Regions from separate parts of the Homo sapiens genome. Here regions 1 and 3 are each linked to region 2. The links are contacts of gene promoters, found by promoter capture Hi-C in human tissues and cell types (Jung and others, 2019). All regions are on one chromosome and are shown on one strand. Each heading gives the region's core, a stretch centred on a gene start or on the middle of the fragment in contact. The rest is flanking DNA. Distances are from core to core; before and after follow the strand shown.

The links. Contacts are between HindIII fragments. The study calls those that stand out against the background at their distance.
Region 1: a fragment that was not itself captured here is called in contact with the fragment with the promoter of CSNK1G1 in region 2 in 1 of the 25 tissues and cell types used here (dorsolateral prefrontal cortex).
Region 3: a contact is called between a fragment that was not itself captured here and the fragment with the promoter of CSNK1G1 in region 2, in 1 of the 25 tissues and cell types used here (aorta).

What each region holds. Positions count from the first base shown.
Region 1 is chr15:64,212,550-64,216,595 of GRCh38, forward strand. CSNK1G1 (casein kinase 1 gamma 1) reads right to left here. Exons shown (of 12, transcript NM_022048.5): 5 at 4,013-4,046; 6 at 1,341-1,575. Among named protein-coding and RNA genes, the nearest start is that of PPIB, 52 kb to the left of the region's middle. The HindIII fragment of the contact is 4,787 bases long and covers 404-4,046 here.
Region 2 is chr15:64,354,357-64,358,135 of GRCh38, forward strand. CSNK1G1 (casein kinase 1 gamma 1) reads right to left here and starts at 1,817. Exons shown (of 12, transcript NM_022048.5): 1 at 1,632-1,817. RefSeq lists silencers at 1,083-1,142, 1,533-1,592, 1,703-1,752. The HindIII fragment of the contact is 13,823 bases long and covers 1-3,779 here.
Region 3 is chr15:64,183,075-64,187,251 of GRCh38, forward strand. The region is part of intron 10 of CSNK1G1 (casein kinase 1 gamma 1); the gene reads right to left. Among named protein-coding and RNA genes, the nearest start is that of PPIB, 22 kb to the left of the region's middle. The HindIII fragment of the contact is 3,297 bases long and covers 1-3,257 here.

The DNA of each region.
Region 1 (4,046 bases), core at 1,547-4,046, 140 kb before region 2:
ATAAAAAAATTTAGAAGTTAGCTGGGCATGATGGCATGCGCCTGTAACCCTAGCTACTGAGGCTGAGAAAGATCTCTCCAGCTCAGGTGACTGAGGTTATAGTGAGCTATGATCACACTGCTGCACTCCAGCCTGAGTGAGAGTGAGATTCTGTCTCTAAAAATAAAATAAATATGCTGGGCACGGTGGCTCACACCTGTAATCCCAGCACTTTGGGAGGCCGAGGCAGGCAGATCACTTAAGGCCAGGAGTTCAAGACCAGCCTGGCCAACATGGTGAAATCCCGTCTCTATTAAAAGGACAAAAATTAGCCAGGTGTGGTGATGCATGCCTGTAATCCCAGCTACTCGGGAGGCTGAGGCAGGAGAATTGCTTGAACCCGCGAGGCAGAGGTTGCAGTGAGCCGAAATCGTGCCACTGCACTCCAGCCTGGGTGATAGAGCGAGACTACATCTCAAAAAAATAAATAAAATAAAATACATCTTAGTGTGCAATAGTTCACTAATATTTAAGAATATTTTATAATTATTTCTGCCTAGGAGTATGGAATCTGAGAATATTCTGCTTGTCTACTCTCTAGAATGTTGATTTTCAAACATGTTTTTTTCAATCACCTAGGAGTCTTTTCTTCAAATAGAATCTTCCATGGAAGCCCAATATATGAAACATAAAAAAGGGAGGCTTTTTTGAAGTGGATAAGCCTAGGGCTCTGCCTGCTTGGTCTCCCCACTGTTCCTTAGGCTTCTCTGACAAATACTCTCCCCCTTGGGCTAGTTCCTCACAGGTAAGGTCTTCTGCCTTGATTAGAGCATTTAACAATATTTGTGCAGGTTGTTTATCCTGAGTAAATTGCAAGACTAATGGTAAACCAAGTATATTTTCACTGAATAAGACAGAAGCTCTTCCTTGAAGACTTCTGTGCAGAACTATGTGCAGTGAACAGAAGTCTACTCCATTTTTAGTGAGGCACTCTTCCCCACCGCTGACCCAGCCTGATGTCCTCTTCAGGACTATCATATATAGGGTCATACATAAGTAAATACCAAATTCATTACTAAACTCATTAAAATGCTATCCTCTTTTTACAATAATTCAAGTACTCACACTGCTCAGAAACTAAACATTTGGAAACAGTGTAAAGAATTAAGAACCTATGCATAGTCTATAGGATTCTTTGAAAAGTCATTAACTTACCATCTCAACTTCTCATGTATAAAAATCACTCAACCTTGTGAAACAATAAAAACCACAAGTTGTAATGCACAATGGGGATATAATGTTACAGAAATAATAAACTGTTCTAATGACTCGCCCCTTTCATGGAACAGAAAAAAACACACCTTTGCCAAGATGCGTGTTGATAGACATATATCTTGCAGTTCCAGTTAAACTTTTGTGTTCCCTATAAGGTATGTGTTTTTTGGTTTCGGGGTCAATGTATTCCTTGGCCAGTCCAAAGTCTATAATGTGTATAACATGCTCTTTCTTATTGCCTTGTCGACCAATCAGGAAGTTCTCTGGCTTGACATCTCGGTAAATGAGGTTCTTTGAGTGCACGTATTCCATTCGAGAAAGCTGAAAGAGAAACAAATGATAGAAAGACTGTAAAGAAGTATATCAGGAAAATACATCAAAACAGTTTCTTTAGCCAGACCAAGGTTTTAATTATTGAAATAACAGTAAAATTCATCTCCTTTCACCGCCCTGAGTCACTTCACTGACTTGTAAACAAAAAAATATTTTGCTATAAATACGTACACAACAAATATCAAGACTAGGAAAAAAAGTGGGATAGTACAGGTCTGCTAAAATGATAGCTCAATTTTACCTCATAATGTCACAATTTGCAAATGACAAATGAAATCAGTTGTTTATATGCTACGTCAGAAAATTAAGCATTTGAGACAAAAGAAGTATTCCCAGGTAGGATATCAAACTGTTGGTGACCTTTGAGACAAATGCCACTGCTACATTCACCTTCTGCCCACATCTTCTTATGCTTATTTGGACAAGACTACCCAACCCAGTTTTCGATGTTGTGAGGCCCAGAGAAGTTAATACTGGCCTGACATCACATAGCTAATTAGCAGCAGAGACAGGGAAACAGTTCATTATTATTATTATTATTTTTGAGACGGAGTCTTGCTCTGTCACCCAGGGTGGAGTGCAGCCTCAGCCTCCTGGGTTCTAGCAATTCTCGTGCCTCAGCCTCCCGGGTAGCTGGGATTACATGCACATGCCACCATGCCTGGCTAATTTTTGTATTTTTAGTAGAGACAGGGTTTCACCATGTTGGCCACACTGGTCTCAAACTCCTGACCTTGGGTGATCCGTCCTCCTCGGCCTCCCAAAATGCTAGGATTACAGGCATGAGCCACCATGCCTGGCCGAAACAGTTCATCGTTGTTGTTTTAAATTTATTTTCAGATTATTTTTGTAGAGATGGGGTCTATGTTGCCTACGCTGGTCTCAAACTCCTGGCCTCAAGTGACCCTCCCACCTCAGCCTCACAAAGTGCTGGGATTATAGACACGAGCCACCATGCCTGGCCAGGGCTATAGTTTTTATGTTAAGTTAAATATAACCAAAAATAATAATCATAAAAGCATTTCAAATTTTATTAAGTATTTCTATCTACTAAGCTTTTCTACTAACTTTTTTTTTTTTTTTTTTTTTTTTTTGAGATGGAGTCTTGCTCTGTCGCCCAGGCTGGAGTGCAGTGGCACGATCTCGGCTCACTGCAAGCTCCACCTCCTGGGTTCACGCCATTCTCCTGCCTCAGCCTCCTGAGTAGCTGGGACTAAAGGCGCTCGCCACCACGCCCAGCTAATTTTTTGTATTTTTAGTAGAGATGGGGTTTCACTGCGTTAGCCAGGATGGTCTCGATCTCCTGACCTCATGATCCGCCCACCTTGGCCTCCCAAAGTGCTGGGATTACAGGCGTGAGCCACCATTCCCAGCCCTTTTCTACTAACTTTTAGTAGAGAAAGAGAAGCTCAGATATTTGAATTTGGGGCTCAAAAGTCAAAGTCAATTATCTAACATTTCCAAATTTTTATAGGACAGTGGGAGAGACCATTACCATTTTAAACAAATGAAGATATATTTGCATCCTTCCCCAAAGGGCTTGTGACAAACTTCTCAAAGGAACTGTTGGAACTGCTTCTTAAACTGGTATTTGTGTATAATTTGGTAGGAGCTACAAGAGCTGCCTCTTCAGCTGAAATTTGTCTCTGAGAGAACTGGAGGCCTGAGAACTACAGCAAATTCCTAGTCACACAATTTTGAATCTGAGTGTTAGTGCAATGGGTTATAACATCAATCTTTTCTTGGTTGCAACAGTGAAGGGAGAGATAGGACATGACAAAACCTTACAGCTATATTTAAAACACATAAATAGGCTGGGTGCAGTGGTTCATGCCTGTAATCCTAGCACATTGGGAGGCCGAGGTGGGAGGACTGCTTGAGACCAGTTTAGACAAGCCTGGGCAACATAGTGGGAGTCTGTCTCCAAAACACTTTTTTTTTTTTAAATGAGCTGGCATGGCACCTGCAGTCCTAGCTGCTGGAGAGGCTGAGGCAGGAGAATCACTTGAGCCTAGGAGTTTGAGGTTGCACTGAGCTATGATCATGCTACTGTACTCTAGCCTGGGTGACAGAGACCCTGTCTCAAAAATGAAAAACAAAACAAAACAAAATCAAATAAATTATTCACATTTTTACAACTCCATCTAATCGACCTCTTTCTCCCTAATCTAAATTATATACTTCCTCTTCAGTTAAGGGCAGAGCATTGCTCCAAGGTGCAAAGTCTTAAAATAGAGCAAATTGCAGATGTAGTGTGACTTCTCTGAATTTACCCTTTTTGCCCCAGCCAGCTTCCCAGAATGCCATCAAGCCTGTGAGTACTAATTCTTGATGTGTTGCTACGGCTAGTAAATCACCAAAAGGCCCACAAGGATGTGGCTGAGGAACCAGCTTATTCTCTTCTAGAAGAGCAATTCCAACTTACCAGCTGGATGGCTATCATTAACACCGTCTTCAAA
Region 2 (3,779 bases), core at 567-3,066:
TTTTAATTCTCTTTAAAGAGACATGTGATGTTAAGATTTACATACATTACTTTTTCATGTATTTCGTGTTAATCCATACTATAAACACCAATATGGTGTAGCTGAGAAAAATCTATAAAATATATTTTGCTCATTTCAATAAATGGGCCATATTCTACTTTATTATTTTGAATTTTAAGAAACTACTGATAACTGAATTTCATGCTACCTACGATCAATTTCGAGAAGACACTGAAAGTCCTATTGTATGCATTTTTTTTTCAAAATTATCCGGTTGCTTTCCTATCTCAAACCTCGTTTCACAAAACTGGGCTGCCTTGACTGTGTATGATTAATGGTAATAATTTATCTTCTAATTCAAAGGTGGTTCCGTTTAAAATGGGATGTTACTTATAATACAGGTAAGAATTTTAACTCATACTACTTATGAAGAAACAAAAGCTCTGGTAGGTTCCATGACTTGCCCAAGGTCAGTAACTAGCAACTGGCATAGTCTAGGTTCAACCCAAGATTTATCTGCCTGAAAGTCAATACTTCCACTTGACCGCAATTATCTCCTTAAAAGATTAAGACACAGGCTCAACAGCAGAACATTCATTCTCTCTCTGAAAATTCACATATCTGTTCTGAGACATCACTACACAGCACCTAGTATTCAGTCACTGATTGAAACAAAAATGAAGAGGATCTTTCTACTTCATTTAAATTAGGACAGGTTTACTGGCAGGTAAGAAAGAGGCTGCAAAAGCCTTGCCTCAACATGTCTTGCCTAGACCTGTGATACATCTATATGGTTTCCCCAGTCCATTCTTTTTAAATAAACACGTACATCTACTACACAAGACTACACCTGGACTAGCCTATTGTTAAATGCTTTTCAGAATTCCACTTTTCTAAGGTAATTTATACCGGAATTAATATCGAGCTGGGAGACTTGGTTGAATATGTCATTCAGGCACTTTCCAAACATCTTAAGTGTCATTTAGGGGCAACAAACCCAGTTCCACTCTCTTTTACATTGTGATGCCTGCCCACTTGGGGGACATTGCTCCTGTAGGACGTGGGGGCGAGGAAACAGTAAAGGAAGAAGTGGGGGAAGCGTACGGAAGTTGGGTAGAGGAAAGTCTCATTACCCACTCTTGTGCCCTAAGCTCCGCCAAGGGCGGCTCCCCGCGGTACCCAGTCGACTCAGAACCCCCACAACCTTCGAAGTCCAGCTCTGTCCCAGCGGGGTGGGTAGGGAAAGAGGGCAATGGAAGCACGGGATAGCCCCAGTCACCCTGACGAGATCTGTGCCCTCCTTTTGGCTCCCGGGGGATGCTCCCCCTTTCAGAGTAAGCCCTCCAGGTGGCAAACTCCCGGTCCACACCGGCTAGAGTCAGTTTCTCGGAAGGGGCGCCTCCTCCGCCTACCTCTACCCCGCTAACCGAAACTCTCCACCCGCTGTGTCCCTCAGCCCCTCCATTCCGCCCCCGCAACCCTCCACAGACACAAACGCCAGCCTGCGCCCCACCCGGGATCACGGCGTCCCCCACCCACGCCCAGGAAAGGGCCCCCCACCAACCCCCTCAGACACACACACACCCCCTCAGACTTCAGCCTACAGAACCCCGACGAAGCCGGGCAGATACCTGGTCCAGCAGTGCTGCAAGGCGCAAATGAGGCGGGCGCGGTCCCCTCCCCGAGGCGCCAAGTGCTTCTCTACCCACCCGCAGCGGTGGTTTCTCTCTTTCCCAGGAGCGGGAGGGAGGGGAGAAGGCGGACGGGAGGGGGAAGGCGAGGAGCCGAGGGGCGGCTGGAGCCGAACCGGAACCACTAGCGCGGCCCCGCCCTCGTCCCGGAGTCGCAGAGTACCCTGGCGGGCCTAATAGGACAAACTTTGGGCAGGCAGCGTTAAACTGACACCATCACTTCCGGGTTATCCCCACGGCTGCCCCCTCCTTAGCAACCGCGTGGGGTTGCTAAGCGGAAGTGCCTTCAAAGCAACCCACCCCCATTTCTTCTGGGACTACCAGAAGATATATCGGGAGCACTGAGCTCTGCTTTGGCAACACGCTCTTACCTTCTGCTCAAGATCTTAGACCAAGTACACGCTTCGCTGCCAGAGGCACGAAACCCATCCCGCTTTTCCCTTCAACTGTACTCCTCCACCAAGCCCCCGTCTCTATATACTCCTGCTCCCTCCCACCCTTAATCCCGTGGCTGACCCAGTGGCTGTTCCTAAGGCTCCAGGCTCCTCTCTCAGGTCCCTCGAGGGAATTATTTTCTGACGGTTTAGCAAGCATCTCCCTCTTGTGGATTTTTAATTGTGTTTCAACCAGATTTTTAAAATTTCTTTCAATGTTGTGAAAGGTTTTTCATGCACTTAGTTCTCCTGTGACAGCCCATGAAGCCGAATGGTTAGAAAAATGTTGTCTTCACCTACATTTTGTAAGAGCTGCACATGTTTGTGTAAGGTCTGGAATTAACCTAGCCAAATGGAATAGGCAAAAAAGATTCAATGTAACTCGACAGTTATTTTAATCCTTAAAACAGAGAGCAGGGCACATGTTCTCAGGACCTCTTGAGACTGCGCCTCGGGGGCGGGGTGGTGGTGGAAAAAAGACAGAAAACAAAGAAAAAGGCTAAAGGGAGCCCATAATCAAATTTGGGAAGGAAGAAGACTGTCTAATCCTCCACTCAAAACTCAAAATATGCCGGGTGCGGTGGCTCACACCTGTAATCCCAACACTTTGGGAAGCCGAGACTGGCGGATCACGAGGTCAGGAGATGGAGACCATCCTGGCCAACATGGTGAAACTCCGTCTCTACTAAAAATACAAAAATTGGCCGGGCGCGGTGGCTCGCGCCTGTAGTCCTCCTGTAAGCACTTTGGGAGGCCGAGGCGGGCAGATCACGAGGTCAGGAGATGGAGACCATCCTGGCCAACATGGTGAAACCCCGTCTCTACTAAAATACAAAAAATTGGCTGGGGGTGGTGGCACGTGCCTGTAGTCCCAGTTACACGGGAGGCTGAAGCAGGGGAATTGCTTGAACCCGGGAGGCGGAGATTGCAGTGAGCCGAGATCGTGCCATTGCACTCCAATGGCACTCCAGCCTGATGACAGAGCGAGACTCCGTCTCAAAAATAATAATAAATAAATAAACAAACAAACAAAAATTAGCTGGGCGTGGTGGCGTGTGCCTGTAGTCCCAGCTACTCGGGAGACTGAGGCAGGAGAATCGCGGGAACCCGGGAGGCGGAGGTTGCAGTGAGCCGAGACCGCGCCACTGCCCTGCAGCATGGAGACAGAGCTAGACTCCGTCTAAAAAAAAAAAAAAAAACCTTCAAAATAAACTTTCATACCGACACTATGGATAAGAAAAGAGACCTCATTTATTGTGTCTGGGTGATTTGGGGTTTGAAAATATTGGGAAAATGAATGGTTGGGGTAAAAGTTAACAAAGTAATACTCGAAAAAAACAACTCGTATCTGGAGGCTGGGTGCGGTGGCTCACGCCTGTAATCTCAGCACTTTGGGAAGCCGAGGCCTGAGGATCACCTGAGGTAAGGAGTTCGAGACCAGCCTGGCCAAACTGGTGAAACCCTGTCTCTATTAAAAATAGAAAAATTAGCTGGGCGTGGTGGTGGGCACCTGTGATCCCACCTACTCGGGAGGCTGAGGCATGAGAATCATTTGAACCCAGAAGGCAGACGTTGCAGTGAGCCGAGATTGCGCCATTGCACTCCAGCCTGGGCAACAGAGCGAGACTCCGTTTCAGAAAAAAGAAAAAAAAAA
Region 3 (4,177 bases), core at 359-2,858, 170 kb before region 2:
CAAGACGTTAAATAAAATGTCTTGGCTTCTACTCACACGAATGAAACATTAGTAAGCATCACCACTGAGAATTACCTGGTGACTCTGGGTCATGGGGCCTGCTCACAGCGTTTCACATGGCTTATACTTCCTAAATTCTCCTCGCTACAAATTGCCACTTGGGCCATAAGCACTGTCCTTGGGCAATCTAAGGAATAAGAGGTTATCCCCATTTTACAGACTAGACATCTTGTCTGTATCAATGAGCATGTGGTCTCAAATGAATGAGACATAAACAGAGCCTCCATTCTCTACTTTTAAACTTAATTGTACCAAAAACATACCTAAGACTTAAAGGCTACACATCTGGGCCTTCACAGCATCCGTTTAATTATTTCAGGTTGGAGGTCTGGTTTGTCAAACTACTGAACTGCAGGCAGTGGAACAAACACTGTGTAAGTGATGGAAGAGTTGGATTCTAGGCCTTGTTCTACCATTAACATCCTCTGTGAGCCCTATTTTCTAATTCCATAAGACAAGGCAAATGACCATGATCCTATCAACTTCATAAATATGAAGGGAATTAAATACAATGATGTTTAGAAAATAAATTTTAAAGAATTAAAAAGAATCTTATGAATAACAAATTACTGACATTTTAAACAATATTATCTTTATGTTTTTCTTTTTTTTTTTTTTGGAGATGGAATCTCGCTCTGTTGCCCAGGCTGCAGTGCAGTGGCGTGATCTTGGCTCACTGCAACCTCTACCTCCCGAGTTCAAGCGATTCTCCTGCCTCAGCCTCCCGAGTAGCTGGGACTACAGGTATGCACCACCACATCTGGCTAATTTTTGTATTTTTTAGTAGAAATGGGGTTTCACCATATTGGCCAGGCTGGTCTTGAACTCCTGACCCCAAGTGATCTGGCTGGTATTTTTTTTCTATTAAATTTTTAGTATAACTTTATGGCCGGGTGCAGTGGCTCACGCCTGTAATCCCAGCATTTTGGGAGGCCGAGGTGGGCGGATCACGAGGTCAGGAGATTAAGACCATCCTGACTAACACGGTGAAACTCCGTCTCTACTAAAAATACAAAAAATTAGCCGGGCATGGTGGCACACGTCTGTAGTCCCAGCTACTCGGGAGGCTGAGGCAGGAGAATGGTGTGAACCTGGGAGGCGTAGCTTGCAGTGAGCAGAGATCATGCCACTGCACTCCAGCCTGGGTGACAGAGCGAGACTTCGTCTCAAAAAATAAATAAATAAATAAATAAATTTTTAGTATAATGTCATTATAAAAGATAATAAAAAATAAGCTTCATTATAAAAAGCTTTATTTGCGGCCAGGCACGGTGGCTCGTGCCTGTAATCCTAGCACTTTGGGAGGCCGAGACAGGTGGATTGCCTGAGCTCAGCAGTTCGAGACCAGCCTGGACAACATGGTGAAACCCCGTCTCTATTAAAATACAAAAAATCAGCTGGGCGTGGTGGCGGGCGCCTGTAATCCCAGCTACTCAGGAGGCTGAGGCACAAGAATTGCTTGAACCTGGGAGGCGGACGTTGTAGTGAGCCAAGATCATGCCACTGCACCCCAGCCTGGACAACAATGCGAAACTCTGTCTCAAAAAAAAAAAAAAAAAAGATTTGCATACTTCAAATAGACATTTATTTTGCTTTAATCACTATTAAAATTAATCGCTCATTACTCTGGCTATACCAAACAAGACCAATTAATATCTTAAAGCATTACTCATGAGAAAGACTAAGATGAAGGACTGTTTTGACGTTCAGACCTGGTAATATCCCTTTTAGGAGTCTCAATAATTTGGGTTATTAGTTTCATTTCTCAAAATGTCACTGTGAGGAGAAATCAGAGCTGTGTACCAAAGGAAACAGTACTTCAACTCATGTGTCATTCTAAGTCTTATGTCCTTACTTGGTCCTGAACATTTCTAAAAGCTCCCTAAACATTTTAATTCAGACAACTTTAGAGGAATCTTTTTGAAAGGGAAAATATATTATCTTCTTGCATTTAGGCCTTCCACACATAAAAGATCTGTGGAAATACTGGAAGGATGAGAACCATGGGGGTCTGCCCATTAAATATGTTGGAACAGGAGCCTTCATGTGCCTTATCAGAGCAAACTTTTCTTGTCTTAGATTCTGCACTCCCTCCCAGGGTCATGGTGTCTGCAAGTCACCCAGGTTAGGCCAAACATGATTTTACTACATTACCTCTGGCAAGTGAGACAACTCAGAAATATGTGGACATCTGTTGTGTTAGGAAAGTATTGTTAATCTGGTTTGCAAAAGGTATGCTAAAAACAGTGTCAGCCCAAAGAGGCCAAAGTAATGAGGAGCAGCAGAGCTGAACATAGTATTAGGTAAATGGTGTAACTGCCTGTCCTCTATCTAAGTGCCAAGGAAGCTGGTAAAACTTAGTTTATAGGGAGTAGAGGAAGTTGCATGTTTCAAAAGAGTTGCCAAAGACACCTCAGTTGGATCCATTTCTAAAGGACACTTTACGAGGCCAGGCACGGTGGCTCACATCTGTAATCCCAGGACTTTGCGAGGCCAAGGCAGGTGGATCACTTGAGGTCAGGAGTTTGAGACCAGCCTGGATGACATGGCAAAAACCCATCTCTACTAAATATCCAAAAATTAGCTGGGTGTGGTGGCACGTGCCTGTAATCCCAGCTGCTCTAGAGGCTGACAGGAGAATCGCTTGAACCCGGGAAACAGCAGTTGCAGTAAGCCAAGATCGCGCTACTGCACTCCAGCCTGGATGACAGAGCCAGACTCCATCTCGAAAAAAAAAAAAAAAAAGAGAGAAAAAGAAATATGCTTATTTTGTAATTATAAAAAGACAAGGATAAACCATAATGTTAAAAAGGAAAATACCAAAGAGCTGCTCTTGCAGCTCTGTTTTGAACAAGCTGCTCTCTTCTATTGGTGTACAGATCCCAGGATCTCCTAACTTTATTATTATATTAGGGATTCCCTTTGTTTCTTTCCTGTGCTGGATCTCTGGTTTCCTGGATCCCAGATATTCCTTTCTTTTTATTTTTTTTGAGATAGAGTCTTGTTGTGTCGCCCAGGCTGGAGTGCAGGGGCGCAATCTCAGCTCACTGCAACTTCTGCCTCCCGAGTTTAAGTGATTCTCCTGCCTCAGCCTCCCAAGTAGCTGGGACTACAGGTACCCACCACCACGCCCAGCTAATTTTTTAAAATTACTTTTTAGTAGAGATGGAGTTTCACCATAGTGGCCAGGCTGGTCTTGAACTCCTGACCTTGTGATCTGCTCACCTCGGCCTCCCAAAGTGCTGGGATTACAGGCATGAGCTATTGCACACAGCTGCTACTCTCTTGTTCTATTAATTCTGATAACACACATCCTCATGTGGCTTCACAAGAAAGTGTGCCTGAGAAATAAAATTGAGTTTTTTGTTTTGTTTTGTTTTGTTTTGTTTTAAAGAGACAGGGTCTTGCTCTGTCACCCAGGCTGAAATGCAGTGGTACGATCATGGCTCACTGCAGCCTCAAACTCCTGGGCTCAAGCGATCCTCCCGCCTAAGCCTTCCTGGCAGCCAGGACTATAGGCACATAGCACCACACCTAGCCAATTTTTCTGTTTTGTGTAGAGACAATATCTTGCTATATTGCCAGGATGGTCAAGAACTCCTGGCCTCAAGTGATCCTCCTGCCTAGGCTTCTCAAAATGCTGGAATTATCGGTGTTAGCCACTGTGCCTGGCTCCTAAGAGCAATGATTTTTTTCTCTTTTTTTTTGAGACGGAATCTCAGTCCATCACCCAGGCTGGAGTGCAATGGCGTGATCTCGGCTCACTGCAACCTCTGCCTCCCAGGTTCAAGCGTTCTCCTGCCTCAGCCTCCTGAGTAGCTGGAACTATAGGCATGCGCCACCATGCCCAGCTAATTTTTGTATTTTTAGTAGAGACGGGGTTTCACCATGTTGGCCAGGATGGTCTCAATCACTTGACCTTGTGATCTGCCCACCTTGGGCTCCCAAAGTGCTGGGATTATAGGTGCGAGCCACCACGCCTGGCCATCCTAGCTAATTTTTTAACTTTCTGTAGAGATGAGCTCTCCCTTTGTTGCTCAGTCTTGTCCAATCCATCATGGTTTTTTTTGGGGGGGATGGAGCCTCATTCTGTCACCCAGGCTAGAGTATGCAGTGG